Regions from separate parts of the Homo sapiens genome. Here region 1 is linked to region 2. Evidence: promoter capture Hi-C in 16 types of primary human blood cells and fetal thymus (Javierre and others, 2016). All regions are on one chromosome and are shown on one strand. Each heading gives the region's core, a stretch centred on a gene start or on the middle of the fragment in contact. The rest is flanking DNA. Distances are from core to core; before and after follow the strand shown.

Region 1 (3,945 bases), core at 1,339-3,838, 86 kb before region 2:
CTTCCTTTGCCATGCCTGACACCAGCTACATTCACTCGTCCACAGCTCCATAGCTCCTGGGTGAAGGACCCGTGGCTGGGAAAGGTCATCTAGGTGGCCTCTGCAAGAGGGCAGGTGGGCAGCCGGGTCAGAGCAGCTCTTCATGAGACTCCCCAAGGCTGACTGCCTCCATTTTGCCTCTCCGCTCCAGCCAGTGTGAGCGGAACCCCTGCCCCATGGACAGCAGGCCCTGCCGCCATCTGCCCAAGACCATCTCCTTCCATTACCTCTCTCTGCCTTCCAACCTGAAGACGCCCATCACGCTCTTCCGCATGGCCACAGCCTCTGCCCCCGGCCGAGCTGGGCCCAACAGCCTGCGGTTTGGGATCGTGGGTGGGAACAGCCGCGGCCACTTTGTGATGCAGCGTTCAGACCGGCAGACTGGGGATCTGATCCTTGTGCAGAACCTGGAGGGGCCTCAGACGCTGGAGGTGGACGTCGACATGTCGGAATACCTGGACCGCTCCTTCCAGGCCAACCACGTGTCCAAGGTCACCATCTTTGTATCCCCCTATGACTTCTGAGGGTACACAGGGGCACTGGGGTGTGGAGAGCTGACCTCATTTCTCTTCCCCGAAGGCTCAGCTTCGGGCACCGACTGCGTGGAGCCTCCCGCCTGTTCCCGCCCTCTCACCAGTGCACCCAGGCTTCTAGGGCAGCGTTGCACGGCGCCCCATGGAATAGCACGGAAGAGCAGCCACAAAACTCAACTGCTGCCATCACTCTTTTTTTTTTTCTGCTTTGAGGCCCTTCCCTTAGATTATGCACTAACTTTCTTAAAACTTTTTCATCCAGGGGATGGGTGGCTTTCCAAAATGCTGTGCAAATGGCCTTGTGAGTTTGAACTAGCTGGGGAGAGAAAAGGTGGCAATGTGTGTCAGGTGACTATCAGCCCTTCTGCCTTTTTGTAGCCAGGCTTGCTATGAATGAAACGGTTCTAGTCGTGCGGGGGGCCCTAGTCATGCCTCTGCGCATGTGGCATAGGAAGTGGAGTCTCCTCCCATGACCCAGCACGTTGTTCTTATCTGCCTTTTCCTCTGTGACATGCCTGCCTGCCTGCCTTCTCATCAGAGAGTCACAGGAGGGCCTTAAACCCCACGCAGATCCTTCTAGACCAAGGACCCATTGTTAAAAGCATGGATTCTGCCTGAGTTACTTCCCTTTTGAGAAATCATATCTCAAATACATAACCTGGTAATATAACTGAAAAAATAAAAGTGATTGCTCCTTCCTGCCCGCCTGACTTCTACCTGAGCATGAGACAGCCCACTTCCTTCTAGGAGGGGGTGGCTGACTCTCTTCCTGTCTGGGTTGGATACACTGGAATAAATGAGTCAGAGAACACAGAGGTGATGTTTGGGACTGTTCCACATTATAAATTTGTTTTGACCACATGGGAGATTGGTAAGGACAATACCTGGCCGTGGAGAGTTTAGGAAAATGCTTGAGTTGTCATAGATTCCATGGCCTTTTGTTTCTGATGAATTCACTACAGGGTGACGCCCTCCAGGTGATCAAAGAGAGAAAACACTGGCCAGAGCTGAGTGGGGTGTGGTAGGATGGGGTATGGGGTAGGGTGGGGAAGATCATTCAAGCTAAAACTTAAGAGGTAGCGAAGCTGTAAGAAAGTTTCATTATCTAATTACATGTCAAGCTGCTGGTGAGATTTCCTCACACATATTTTATTTAAATCTTTGTATTTGCCCTGGTATGAGATGGAGCCAGAAGTGTGTCACTAGTTCAATGATCAAGCCCTACATCAAGATGGTTTCTAAGATGGTTTATTCTTGTACTGTTGTTTGGACAAAGGTTGAGACACAGTCAAGAGTTGCTTTTGAAATGTTTCTTCTCCCATGGGCTCAGCTGCGATCTCTAACAACAGAAAAAGGACATGCAAACTAAAGTTACAAGACTTCATTAAAACATTATCCACAGCCTTATGTTTCTAAATGTAGCTATGCTGGGCCAGAAGCCTGCACACCACCCAGTCCCATGTGCACAACACCAGGCGGAAGAGTCTAAGGGCCTGGCCAGGTTCCTGAATGGGAGATGTCACAGCTGTGGGCTAGGGACAGCCCACACATCACACACATCATATGTGAGATATGATGACATATGATGTGGGATATATGTGGGATATATTGAGATATGATGTGTTCAGGGGGACAAGCCTCTCACATGCCAGAAGGTGGGGAGTGTTTGGGGAGTCTCCAGAGCAGGTGCCCTCTAAACTGGTATATGATAGGGCTTTGATGCCAAACAGCCCAGTTTAAAGCAACAATTTCCATCACCAAGATCTGCCGTCATCAAACCTGCTTCCCACTGATGAAATCACGCACCCAGCCCCGGTGCCCACAGCACCAAAGTACAAATGGCTGACTGCTTAGGATGTGGATGATGGCTGTGGACAATGATGGCTGGGCACTTCTTGTGGATGATGTGGATGATGGGTCTTTTGTGGATAATGGCTGGGCACTTCTCCCTGTGGAGTGTCTTGTTCTCTATATGCTCTCTCCTCACTCTCCTCTATGGAATCAACTTTTCTTTTGTCCTTTCAGAGCTCCACTCTGTACTAAGAGTAACTACTGGTTAACCAGAATTCATTTGCACCCCTTTCCAGGTAATATAGTTTCATATTATTTGAGGGAGGGGCTTTAAGACTTTTTATCATGCAAAGTTGCAAACATATGCAAAAGTAGAAAGAATAGTATAATGAACCCCATGTCTGAATCAGTAGCTTCAACAATGAACACATGGCCAACTTGTTTCATCTGCTATCACCCCACCTCATGATGATTCCCAATCCTATCATTTCATCTATAAATATTTTAGAATGTATCTCTAAAAGACAACTTTTAAAAAAAGGATAACCAAAATGCCATTCACATCTAAAACATTAATTCCTTAATACCTTTAAATATTCAGCCATCGTTGACATTTCTCTGAGTGGCTTATATTTTTTTGTTTACTTGCAGTAGGTCTATGCACTGTGATTTATTGATATGCATTTTAAGCCTTTTTTTAATCTGTAGCAGTGGGTCTCACACTTCAGCATATATTGGAATAATCTGAAGGTTTGTTGGAAGACAAAATATAGGGTCATTTATATTGTAGAATTTTTCACAGTATGAGTTTTTCTGAGTGCATCTCTGTCTTCTCTATTTCTTATAAATCTAGAGAGTTAGTCAGATTCAAGTTAGATTTATTTAGGCAAGACTACTTTATTGGTGGTGACAGATGCTTCCAGTAGGAGGAGCAAAATATCTGGTTGCCTCTCTTTTCTGATGTTAGCCCCCGCAGATTGCACAGATCCATTACTTCTGTAGGGATTGCAATTAATATTCTAGTGCTATTGATTTTTTCTTTGTTTATTAGCTGACATACTTTATAAAGAGAAACACACTCTCATCAGTTATTTGGTTACCCTGAGATTTGGTTTGTATAAGAAAAGTAGGATTGATTCTTGGCTTTCCTCCCTTTATTTTTCAGTTTTCAAAATGAGATGGTTCACAGGCATCTTTCCAACATGCCCTGTGAGAGTTGTTTTCTTCTTTGAGTACATTATGAACTCATGGTTGAAACATATCTGATGTTATCATGTGTGTTATCATCTGTATTAATAGTAATTACAGCTACTGTCTTTGTTTTTGCTCAAATTGTTCTATCTTTGGTTCTTGGGAGCTGCTTCGAGGTGGCTGATTCCTTTTGACATGACCCTAGTAGTCTTTTTCATCCTGTATATTTTCTGCCCCTGCCCTGAAATCAGCTGTTTTCTCCCAGTAATCCCTGGTTCCTTCTAGTGGGGGATGGTAATTAGACATCAAGGTCTGAGTGCTCAGAGTGCTCATTGGTAGTGGTTACATCATAGTTTCTTGGCTTTAGTGGCTAGAGCTAGGAAATATGTAT
Region 2 (3,866 bases), core at 1-2,500:
TCATTGCAATTGTTTTTGAATGCATTCCATTTATGTATTAGTAAAATGTATTATTAAGGAAAGACAAATTAAGTCAGATATTTGGATTAATCATTGAGTCTATCATTTTAGTAAAAAGCAAGGAACTTTCCTTCAGGACTAATATATTAAATAGGCCAAAACACTGACTTGTCATTTAAAAATTTTTTAAGGTCACTTCATAAGTATAAAAAACTCATGCATGGTCGGGCGCGGTGGCTCACGGCTGTAACCCCAGCACTTTGGGAGACCCAGGAGGGCGGATCACCTGAAGTCAGGAGTTCGAGACCAGCCTGGCCAAAATGGGGAAACCCCATCTCTACTAAAAATACAAAAATTAGCCAGGCGTGGTGGCGCGTGCCTGCAGTCCCAGCTACTCGGGAGGCTGAGGCAGGAAAATTGCTTGAACCCAGGAGGCAGAGGTTGCAGTGAGCCGAGAGCGCGACACTGCACTCCAGCCTGGGCGACAGAGGAGACTCCATCTCAGAAAAAAAAAAAAAAAAAAAAAAAAAAAAAAAAAAAAAAGGCATGCCTAATAGTATTTATAAAATACTCGCATACATTTTACATGTTAATATTATTACGAAATAAAGTAACGTTTATATAATTATTTCAATAGCTATTCCTATTTAAGTAATAATTGGGTAAATTTAACAGCAAATACAAGAAAAAACTGCATGGCAAGCTATTTTCCTTAAAACATGATTCTGAACACTAAACGTTACAAAAACAGATACTTGCTACAACTGTGAAGGAGAAACTGCATTTCCCTATTATTACAAGAACAAAGGTTTTCACAAAAAAATTTAAGGACTCTACAGCCGCCTTGTTCTTTGTTATCCCACCCCTGCCCGCCTCGGCTAACGGTTTTGGGGCCCGTTTGCTTGGTGCGTCTGGAACTCCTCGGGCGGCGGGCGTCTCGCAGGAAAAACCGCGGCCCGTACTGCGCCGGGAGCAGAAGCGCTGGTGGCCCTCGTAGGTCCCGTGGGCTGCCTCCCCCTCCTGCAGACACTCGAGGAGCCATCCGGCCGCGTCTCTCGCCGCCCGGCCCCGCCACTAGGCTGCCGCCTCCGCCGCTGCACAGAGAAGGGCGAAGACCCGCCCCTGCAGGTGATTGACGGGCACTCTCCTCCAATGGTCAACGCGCTCGGCCCCGGCGGGCTGGGCAAGGGCCGCGGCTCGCGGAGGAATCTCTCTTGCCCTTTAGTCCCGGGCAAGGTGTTGCGGCCGGCGCCATTTTCTCGAGCCGCCTGTTTCGGGTGCCGCCATGTTGGTGAGGAGAAATCACCGTTACGGCCACTGTCCAAATCCCCGCGTCGCTGCACGCCGCCCGCCCGCTCCCACGCCACAGCCACCGGCGGCGAATAGAGACTAGAGCGGCAGCGCCGGCAGCGCGGGGCCGTTGCCCAGTGTTTGCAGTTAGAGCCCCATCTCTCTGGCGTGGTTGTTAATAGACTGGAAAGTCTGTGTCTGTGTCGCTCACTAGTAACCGTGAGTTTTTACCACTTCGTCACCTGTCGGCGGCGGCCGGGAGCAGGTTCCCGCAGGCGGCGCGGGGGGTCTTCCCCGCGCCCCGCCGCCGCCGGCCTCGCAGACCTGCCCTCCAGCCCCGCCCCGTTCTTGACCAAACATGACAGACTCTGAACATGCAGGGCACGACAGGTCGGGAACCCTTCTTGTCTGTCTTTCTGTCGGATGAGAGGAGGGGTCTGGGGCGGCGGGAGCGGGCCGGGGCCGGGCGCCTCCTGCATGACCTAGACGTCTCTGTGTGGCTCCGTCAGTTCCATGACGCGCACTCTTATGTAAACTGCTGGATCGCGGCCGCGGGGGAGGTCGGCCCGGCCGCGCCCGCCTCCCCGAGCCGGGGTCGCTGCTCGCCAGCGCCGGCCCCGCCCCCGGCCGGGCACGTGCGAGCCCCCCGCCCCCCGGGCGGGCTCCGTGTGCGCCGGGCGGCTCTCAGCGTCCCGGCTCGGTGCTGAGGTCCTGCTTCTGCCCGTCCAGGTGTCGGTGCTCCCGGCCAGATAGGACCAGCCAGGAATTTTCAGGAATGGGTGTTTTGATATTTGACTGCTTCCCGAGAACCGAGAACACCTCTAAAAAAATAAACATTTGGTTTTCAGGGAAGTTTTAAGCAGCACCAAAAGGCCATCTGTTGTATACAGTCTTATCCCTTGGAATTTGAGATGGCAAGTTTCAAGTTTAATATGTTAACACAAAATACTTAGGCTTTGCAGAAACTTAGTTTAGCACAGTTTTACCCTAACGTAAAAACTCCATGGATTATTCCGGCTAGCCCAATTTTCTAGATGGTGTGTATCACTTGAATATTGAGATTCTGATTTTTTATTTTTTGCTCTGTGCCTTAAGAGGCACATTCTTGTTTCCATTCGAGTTTGGGGACATTTACAAAGTATACTGTAGCATACTTAAATTTTGGTTATAATTCAAATTTTCATTCGTATATATCTTTAATAATGCGAAAGGGGGGCTTTCATTCATTAAACTTACTGAAACAAAATCCATTGCATCTGATTCTTACTTAGAATATTAATTTGAAAATCTAGAACCTCACAATTACTCCTTTGTGAATAGAAGTAAGAAAAAATATACGTTTTACTATAGACTATATACATTGCTGAAGTTTTATCTGTAGTAATGTGATCGGCTTGGTAAAGCATCCTAAACACGTTTTTTAAAACCCAGAAGCAAAAATCACAAACACTGCTGAAATTTGAAATATCTAAATACCTAGCAATCTTGAGAGGGATAAAAATGGTATTTCAACAACTTCAGTATTGTAATAATAAAAGTAGATTCCCAGAGGGCACGTCAATCAAAGTGTAAAAATTTTTGGAAAGTAAAATGCACTTTTAAAAATGATAAGCTTGCACTTGGCACATTTTTAATGATTTTTTTAACGTTATCTTTTGTATTAAAAAGGAAATTCTTAGAATGGGTTGACTAATACCTTGCTCTTGAGGTATGGACAAACCAATGATGGGGTTTTGCTAATGGAGCCTAAAATCCTTTTTTTTTTTAATATGGAAGAATATCTGTTCCCCTCTCTTAGTGCACAAAGTAACTTCTATATATGGAGTTATGTATTGTACATCATGAAAAAACAATGCCATCAAATTCAAGTATCAAAATAATTTTGCTGGTAAGGAACTGTGATGACAGACCTTTTAAAGAATTTGAAATTTTAAAATACTGGTTTAGAGGTTAGAAAACTTTAAAGAATTATTTGTAAGATATGTTAATAGGTTGGTAGTAGGAGCTAAAGATTAAGATTAGTCTATTTTATTTAAAATTCGGACTAAAAGTATTTTCTAGTGATTTCTGAAACAAAAAGGTTAGCTCCACTTTAACTTAGCCAATTGTTAAGTGGCATCATTGTGCTGAGATGAAGGAGATGGTTTTTTTTTTTCATGCTTTTTTTGTCAACCCACATGAAAAACAAAACAACTACATCAAAAACAAAGTGAACTAGAAGTCAGGAGAAATTCTACAAGATCAGATCAATGGTTCTAAACCTTCCCTGGGGAACTTTTTTTCTTTAAAGTATTGGCGCTATTTCTGTTGGTCTGGACCTCAGCCTGGGTTTTAAGAGTTCTAAAAGCTCCCCAGGAAATTCTAATATGTGCCAAATTGAGAACCGCTATACTCGATCAGTGTTTCCCAATGATAGTTAATCATCAGAATCACTTTGGGGAATAAATTTTTGTTCTGCCCAGAGCAACTGAATCAGAATCTCTAGGGTATTTTTCATAGGCTCCCTGGGAAATTCTTAAGAAATTTGGGGAAAAAATGGACTAATCTGCGGGCTTCCAAAATACTGTATCTTTCCA

What was found. The method cuts DNA at HindIII sites, captures the fragments that hold promoters and counts their contacts. A CHiCAGO score of 5 or more calls a contact.
Region 1: a fragment that was not itself captured here is called in contact with the fragment with the promoter of ZC3H6 in region 2 in 1 of 17 cell types (non-activated CD4 T cells); the score reaches 5.9 in non-activated CD4 T cells.

The regions. Positions count from the first base shown.
Region 1 is chr2:112,186,944-112,190,888 of GRCh38, forward strand. FBLN7 (fibulin 7) reads left to right here. Exons shown (of 8, transcript NM_153214.3): 8 at 191-1,275. The coding sequence ends at 563. Among named protein-coding and RNA genes, the nearest start is that of FBLN7, 51 kb to the left of the region's middle. The HindIII fragment of the contact is 8,526 bases long and covers 1-3,945 here.
Region 2 is chr2:112,274,347-112,278,212 of GRCh38, forward strand. It overlaps ZC3H6 (zinc finger CCCH-type containing 6), which reads left to right and starts at 1,251. Exons shown (of 12, transcript NM_198581.3): 1 at 1,251-1,680. The coding sequence starts at 1,649. RefSeq lists enhancers at 953-1,525, 1,141-1,350 and a silencer at 1,541-2,020. The HindIII fragment of the contact is 12,828 bases long and covers 1-2,900 here.